2 separate regions of the Homo sapiens genome follow, and region 2 is linked to region 1. Evidence: promoter capture Hi-C in human tissues and cell types (Jung and others, 2019). All regions are on one chromosome and are shown on one strand. Each heading gives the region's core, a stretch centred on a gene start or on the middle of the fragment in contact. The rest is flanking DNA. Distances are from core to core; before and after follow the strand shown. Region 1 holds the start of WNT6 (Wnt family member 6). Region 2 overlaps LINC01494 (long intergenic non-protein coding RNA 1494).

Region 1 (4,100 bases), core at 974-3,473:
CAGATACAGAGCCCAGAAAGGTGAATCAGCCAGTCCAATGACACTCTGCAAGCCCATCTCCAGCACCAACACACTCCTAGGCCTCAGGGCTCCTAAAGACAAGGTATCTGCCTTCCAGGAGCAGGGAAGAGAGACCTAAAGGACTGTTGTCAGCCAAATGCAGTAACCAGCATAGTTGCCCAATGTATGTGATACAGTGGGAGCGCAGAGAAGGCAATGGAAGGAGGACAAGGGGGCAGCTTCAGGGAGGAAATGGTATTTTAACCGTAAGGATAAGAATGATTTAGACAGAGGGGGAGGGAGGGGAAGGAAGACAATGGCCATCAGGGAGGGACCCCATCCCCACACCTTGAAAAAGGGCAAAGTTAGGCGTTTATGGGGAAAAGAGATTCCTTTACAACATTTTCCTTGGAACTCTGGATTTTAAATGTAAATGAATCCCCTTTTTCACTCCTGGGGACCCTGGCCAGGAGAAGCTGGGTTGTGAGGGGGGCGCTGTACATACTGAGTACCTCCTAAGGTCCTATTATTCTACACGTCCTCCCACCTAACCTTCCCAGCAAGCCTGCCAGGTAGGGAGACTGTTATCCTATTTCCAGTTAAGACTGAGAGGTAGGGAAAGGAAGTGACTAGCCCAAGATCACAAACATAATGTTTAGATCTTAGATCTATCTGCTTCAAAGCTGCCACTGCATTATACTAAGCCGGATCAAAGGGCATATGTTCCCTAGATAGGACCTGGGTCGTCCTCGGTTCGCCCTTTCCGTGACACTAGCGTCGGACGGCTCTCCGCATCACGGAGTAGGGATTGCTGCCCGCCACTCCCTGTGTGGGCATCCTACTCCCTATCTCTCCAGAGCACGGGGATCTGCCTCTCTTCCAAATCTGGGGGGCGAGGGAGGAGCGGAGGGTCGGCATCCAGCCAATCACATGGCAATATGCAAATAGACACGACCCTGCCTTCTTAGGATTGGCTAACCCGTCAGCGTTATTGTCCAAGTCTCTCCTCTCTAAACACTGAGCTATTCCGGGCGAGGGTTTGCGGCTCTGGAGACCTAGGGGGAAAAAAGTCCTTTGGATCTGGATCTCTGAGCCGTCCCGGTCGGGCACCCTCCTTCCCCGCCCCGGCCCCACCCCCACCCCCAAGGCTCGAAGCTCCCGCAACCTTCGCTGCCTAGGTGTCCCTTCTAGCTAGGGCCAAGCCTGGGAAGACGCCCCCTTCCCTTGGCTGGCCAGGCCCCTCTCCCTTCCCGCAGGACCCCTCCCGGTCCCGTATCTCCCGGGCTGCACATATTTTTTCATTCATGACCCCCAGGTCTGGAAGGGCCGGGCGCCTGGGTCCGGTTCCTTCCGCTCCTCCTTTTCCTTGCTTGGGGAGGACGAGGTAGAGAAAACCAGGGTCCTGACTCACTTTCCCCTTTATATTCCCTCTGTCGTCACTAAGGCCCACTCCTCAGGAGCCCAGAGAGAAGCCGGTGGGTTGGTAGGCAAAGCAGGGCGGGGAAGGGGCAGCTGTGTGGCCCTCTCTGCCTTGTGGCTTCCCACCTTGTTCCTGTCTTCTCCAAATCCAGCCCCATACCCTGAATCCAGGGCCCTCCTCACACATTCTTTTCCTCGGATATGTGTCTTCCCGAAAGATCTTTCCTACCCACTCGCCTGTTCCTTGGTGAGCTGGGTGAGCGCATAACTTGGCGGGGGGTGGGAGAGAACCCGGGAGGAGGAAACACAATAGAATGTTCCCGAGGGTTAGGAACGTCGAAGTGGAGTTCAGAAACGCCCCCGGCCGAGGCCAGAAAGCTGGGCTCGGAGAGCAGGTAGAGCCGGGAGGCTGCGGAACACCCCAGTCTGTCCTGGGTCCCGGGGTCCCCACCCTCCAGGGTCCAGAGCCGCGCCAGGACAGCCGGACTCACCACCACAGTCCGCCGACGTGCGCCGGGCACAGGAGCAGCAGCAGCAGCAGCCCGAGGCGGGAGGGTAAGGGCGGCAGCATCGTGACCGCCCTACGGCCGCCCGGGTGGGCAGGGGGCGAGGCTGCGGGGCGAACCGCGGCGCGCGAGGGCCCGGGCTTCAGTGCGAGCGCGGCGAGCGCAACGGCGGCGGCCGGGAGGCGAGGGATCCGGCGGCGGCGGGGGGGCCCATCCCGGGCGAGGAGGGCGCGGCGGAGGCGGAGAGCGGACGGGGCAGCCAGCGCCTGTGTCTCCTGCGGAGCTCGCTCGGGAGAAGAAATCAGAGCCGGGGGCGGAGGTGGGAGGGGAGCGGGGCCGAGGCGGGGGCGGGGGGCAGGGGGCCGGAGGGAGGTGGCAGTTGCGACAGTCAGGCAGCGGGACTCTCGGGAGCGAGCCGTGCGCCCCGGGGCGGCTGGCGCGGAGCGCAGCGGAGGGCGGGAGCGGGGTGCCGGGGCGGGGCCCCAGCGCGCTTCGGGCTGTGGGACCCGCCCGCTTCGCCCCCTCGCCTCGCCTCTCTCGGACTTGGAGCCCCCCGCCGCTCGCGGCCGCCTGGAGTCGGGGGCAAGGAAGGGCTGGGAAGAAGAGTAGAGAGGGGTGAGGGGGGAGAAAGAGGAGCTGAGGAATGGGGGACGGGCTGGAAGGGAGACGTTTGACAGGTTTGTTGACTGTAAAGAGAGAAAACTTCCCAGGAATGAGGGAGTTTGGGGCGGGGGGCGGTGCGGAGGGAGATGCTGGCGCGGAGGCAAGAGAGGAAGTTGGCCTGGGGCGCGGGGTGCTTCGGCGAGGGTTGTCAAACTGGACCGCCCGACAGGCGGATGCTGGAGGGGTCATCTCTTTCCGTGTCCCTGTTCGATGCCTCATGCCCCTTCGTCAGCCTCTCCTTGAAGAAGGGAGGAAGCCCTGGGCCTCCGCTCTCGCTCCCCCAGCCATCCCACCTCTCAAGCCCGCGTTCTAGGGCGGGGAGGTGGGGGAAATGAGAGGGCAAGAGTAGCCGCTCCAGGGCGTGCGCGCAAGCGCTGGCACTTGTAAGCGAGCGGGAGAATGGAGGTCGCAGACTTTCAAGAGATCGAGGGGTCAGAATTCGCTTTAGCCCGGCCTCGCGTGTCCAAGAGTCCCTGCCTCGAGTTCCTCCCCCAACCTGGCCCGGGTAGAAGGGGTGGGAGAGCCAGCTGCAGGTGAGATGGCGTTTATCAGATTTTCTAATGCCACAAAAATGTCTTTGATGCCCCTGGCCCCCTCCCCACGAGGGGGAGATCAAAGGCTCCGTGGGGAAGAGGGACAGCTCCATTCATCATGCCATTCGGCTGGCAGTGGGCAGCAGCCCCTGCCCCTCCCGTCCCCGACGTGCCCCGGGGTGCCAAGGGACAGGTGGTGTGGGACATTCTCCCTGCCATACCATCAAGAGCAACCATCAACCTTTAAAGCTGTCCTGGAGTGGGGAGGACAGATCGAGTCCCTATGGCAGAAACGTCAGGCGCCCAGAAGAAAGCTCCTGGTTGTTGGTAGAGAGGGGGACCTGAATGTGGGGACTGAGGTCGCTTCCAAGAGAGTGATGACTGAGGTCACTTCCAAACAACCTTGGTGAGCAGAGAGAGAAGACAAGATCCTGAGTCACCCAGAGAGGGGGGACAAGTAGATCAAGATGAGGCCAAGGGGCCAAGGGATGTGACCCCAGGGGAGGAGGCTGATGGGGGAAGGAATGAGCAGACAGAGGTGAGAGAACTGGAGAAGTGTGGACTTGCCGGCAAGCAAGCTCCATGTCAGGGCCCTGGTGTCCAGGCTGCATCAGCTCAATCCCTTGCACTGGATACAGAGAGTTCTGGTGAAAGGGCTAGGACACACTAAAGAAGGGGAAGGGGGCAGGGGGCAGTGGCAAGAGTCATAGAGAGAGGGTCTGGTCTAAGCACTGCCCTCTCCCATTTTAGCCTTTAACAGTATCCAAAGGCCACGCACAGCCCCTGCACCTAGTAACTTTGCACACAGTTGCTGTTTCTACGGGGCAATGCCAATCTGGACAGTTCCTAAAGGTCAATGCCAACTCTGGACACTACACATTCAAAGACATACCCAGTTTGGGTGCACACTCCAGCCATGTGGTACCAAATAGGCAGCTAGAGGGCTCTGGGGGTCCCTGGAGGCTACAGGTGGCCAGTG
Region 2 (4,100 bases), core at 901-3,400, 64 kb before region 1:
GTCCACCCCTTGTGCTGGGCTCTTCATTTCTCTCCCCACCAGTTAATGCGGCCTCAATCCCTGGAAAACATCCATGTAAGCACTCATGTTTCAATTTACCAACTGTGTGACCTTGAGCCAGTTACTTAATCTCTTGGAGGCTCAGTTTCTTCATTTGAAAAATAGGCATTATCTTAATATCTACCTCTAGATAGACATTAGATAGACATTGTTATGAGGATTAAAGAGCCAATCCATAGACACTGCTTACCATCATGCAGGGCTCAGAGTCGGCATTTAGCCAGCATCATGATCATGATCATGATCATCATCATCATCATCACTGCAGATGCCAAACACCTTCCATCTCTTCTTTCTGGGAGGCTCATTCCCACAGCTCTTCTGGCTGATGGTAAACCTTTAACTGGTTCTGAAGTTTGGGGCATCACCAAGAAGCTTGTGTTGACCATGTGATATGGTTTGGCTCTGCATCCCCACCCAAATCTCATCTTGAATTTTAATCCCCACATGTCAGGGGAGGGGTCTGGTGAGAGGTGATTGAATCATGGGCATGGACTTCCCCATTGCTGTTCTTGACTGTGAGTGAATTCTCATGCGATCTGGTTGTTTGAAAGTGTGTGGCACTTCCCCTTCACTCTTTCTCTCTCCTGCTCTGCCATGGTAAGACACGCTTGCTTCCCCTTTAAGTTCTGCCATGATTGTAAGTTTCCTGAGGCTTTCCAGCCATGCTTCCTGTTAAGCCTGCAGAACTGTGAGTGAATTAAACCTCTTTTCTTCACAAATTACTCAGTCTCAGGCAGCTCTTTATAGCAGTGTGAAAATGGACTATACAGAAAATTATTTATAACAGCTATAAAGATATCTGAAAATGTGGAAGCAACTTTGGAACTGGGTAACAGGCAGAGGTTGGAACAGTTCGGAAAGCTCAGAAGAAGACAGGAAGACGTGGGAAAGTTTGGAACTTCATGAAGATTTGTTGAATTGTTTTGATGAGAATGCTGATAGTGATATGGACAATGAAGTCCAGACTCAAGTGGTCTCAGATGGAGATGAGGAACTTATTGAGAACTAGAGTAAAGGTCACTCTTGCTATGCTTTAGCAAAGATACTGGTAGCATTTTTTCCCCTGCCCTAGAGATCTGTGGAACTTTGAACTTGAGAGAGATGATTTAGGGTATCTGCTGGAAGAAATTTCTAAGCAGCAAAGCATTCAGGAGGTAAACTGGCTGTTTCTAAAAGTGTATGCTCATATGCATGAACAAAGAGATGATCTGAAACTGGAACTTACATTTAAAAGGGAAGTACAGCATATAAGTTTAGAAAATTTGCAGCCTGGCCATGTGGTAGAAAAGAAAAATCCATTTTCTGGGGAGAAATTCAAGCCTGCTGCAGAAGTTTGCATAAGTAAAGAAGAGTTAAATAGCCAAGACAATGGGGAAAATGTCTCCTGGGCATTTCAGAGACCACTGAGGCAGCCCCTCCCATCACAAGCCCAGAGACCTAGAAGGAAAAAATGGTTTCATGGCCCAGGCCCAGGCCCCAGCAGCTCTGTGCAGCCTTGGGACGTGATGCCCTGGATCCCAGCCACTCCAGCTCTAGCCATGGCTAAAAGGGGCCAAGGTACAGCTCGGGCCATTGCTTCAGAGATTGCAAGCCCCAAGTCTTTGGCAGCTTCCATGTGATGTTGGGCCTGCAGGTGTGCAGATGGCAAGAGTTGAGGTTTTGGAATCTCCACCTAGATTTCAGAGGATGTATGGAAATGCCTGGATGTCCAGGCAGAAGTCAGCTGCAGGGGCAGAGCCCTCATGGGCAGTGCAGCGGGGAAGTGTGGGATTGGAGCCCTGACACAGAGTCCCCACCAGGGCACTGCCTAGTGGAACCATGAGAAGAGGGCCACCGTCCTCCAAACCCCAGAATGGTACATCCACTGACAGCTTGCACCATGTGCCCAGAAAAGCCACAGGCACTCAATGCCAGCCCATGAAAGCAGCTATGGGGGCTGTACCCTGCAGAGCCACAGAGGCAAAACTTCCCAAGGCCTTGGGAGCCCACCTCTTGCATCAGCATGCCCTGGATGTGAGACATGGAGTCAAAGGAGATTATTTTGGAGGTTTAAGATTTAATGACTTCCAGCCAGGGACAGTGGCTCACGCCTGTAATCCTAGTACTTTGGGAGGCCGAGATGGGTGGATTGCCTGAGTTCAGGAGTTCAAGAACAGCCTGGGTAACACGGTGAAACCCTGTCTCTAATAAAATACAAAAAATTAGCTGGGCATGTCAGCATGTGCCTGTAGTCCCAGCTACTCGGGAGGCTAAGGCAGGAGAATTGCTTGAACCCAGAAGGTGGAGGTTGCAGTGAGCCAAGATAGCACCACTGCACTCCACCCTGGGTGACAGAGCAAGACTCTGTCTCCAAAAAAAAAAAAAAAAAAAAAGATTTAATGACTTCCTTGCCAGGTTTTGATCTTGCATAGGACCTGTAGTCCCTTGGTTTTGGCCAATTTCCCCCTTTGCAATGGGAGCATTTACCTAATTCCTGTATTTCCATTGTATCTTGGAAGTTACTAACTTGTTTTTTATTTTACAGGCTCATAGGCGGAAGGGGCTTGCCTTGTCTCAGATGAGACTTTGGACTTAGACTTTTGAGTTAATGCTGGAATGAGTTAAGACTTTGGGGGACTGTTGGGAAGGCATGCTTGGCTTTGAAATGTGATGACATGAGATTTTGGAGGGGCCAGGGGTGGAATGATATGGTTTGGCTCTGTCCTCACCCAAATCTCATTTCGAATTGTAATCCCCACATGTGGGGGGAGGGGCCTGGTGGCAGGTGATTGAATCATTGGGGTGGAGTTCCCGCTTGCTATTCTTGTGAGAGTGAGTTCTCACAAGATCTGGTTGTTCAAAAGTGTGTGGCACTTCCCTCTTCACTCTCGCTCTTTCCTGCTCCACCACGGTAAGACATGCTTGATTCCCCTAACCCCTCCACCACAATTGTAAGTTACCAGCCATGCTTCCTGTTAAGCCTGTGGAAATGTGAGGAAATTAAACCTCTTTTCTTCATAAATTACTCAGTCTCAGGTAGTTCTTTATAGTTAAAATGGATTAATATATCATGTGTTGATGAAGTTCCTGTTATTCCCTCCTTACCCTCCTACGTGGATTATCTAAAGATATTTATTTCACTCCCACAAAAATGTTTTGTTCTCACCCATTCCCGAGAGCTGAAAGTAGGCTGTGGGAACTTTGAGTGAGAAAATAAGAGCAGCCTACTCCCCCTGACCATATTCCTGCCTGATGGCCAGTATTTGGGTGACACTTCACCCTGCCACCAATTTTTTGAGTCCTATTTCCCACAGACTCTGTGTTAGTCCATTCTTGTGCTGCTATAAAGAAATACCTGAGACTAGGTAATTTATAAAGAAAACAGGCTTTGATTTGGCTCACGTTTCTGCAGGCTGTACAGGAAGCATGGTGCCAGCATCAGCTTCTTGTGAAGGCCTCAGGAAGCTTTCAATCATGGCACAAAGTGAAGGGGAGCCAGCACATCACATGGTGAAGAGAGGGCGCAAAAGAGAGAAGGGGGAGGTCTCAGATTCTTTTAAACAACCAGTTCTCATGTGAACTAACTGGGAGAGAACATCACCAAGAAATGGTGCTAAGCCATTTGTGAAGGATCCACCCCCATGATCAAATCACCTCCCACCAGGTCTCACCTCTAACAGTGACGGTTACATTTCAACATGAGATTTGAAGAGGACAAACACCCCAAACATAACAGACTCACTTGTGACTTTGCCCTGTAAACTTTCAGGGAAAATGAGGTCACTTCTGACCCAGAGACTCTGTCATCTTACCCTCTCCTGGGGGTCTTCATCTAAAGAAGTAAGTGTAAATTCCTTACTGATCCAGTTTTGTATGTGTATGTGTGTGTATACACAAAATTTACTATATAGAAAGTAAATTCTTCTACTATATATATGCATTATATATATACACATTATAATGTATATATATAATGTATATATAAATATATATAATTGTGTGTGTGTGTGTGTGTGTGTATATATATATATATATATACAGTAGAAGAATTCAGAGGT

The links. Contacts are between HindIII fragments. The study calls those that stand out against the background at their distance.
Region 2: a contact is called between a fragment that was not itself captured here and the fragment with the promoter of WNT6 in region 1, in 1 of the 25 tissues and cell types used here (aorta).

What each region holds. Positions count from the first base shown.
Region 1 is chr2:218,857,928-218,862,027 of GRCh38, reverse strand. It overlaps WNT6 (Wnt family member 6), which reads right to left and starts at 2,223. Exons shown (of 4, transcript NM_006522.4): 1 at 1,911-2,223. The coding sequence starts at 1,990. The HindIII fragment of the contact is 31,874 bases long and covers 1-4,100 here.
Region 2 is chr2:218,921,472-218,925,571 of GRCh38, reverse strand. It overlaps LINC01494 (long intergenic non-protein coding RNA 1494), which reads left to right. Exons shown (of 5, transcript NR_110238.1): 3 at 3,812-3,882. LOC124907984 (a long non-coding RNA gene) reads right to left here and starts at 680. Exons shown (of 2, transcript XR_007088091.1): 1 at 1-680. The HindIII fragment of the contact is 4,123 bases long and covers 89-4,100 here.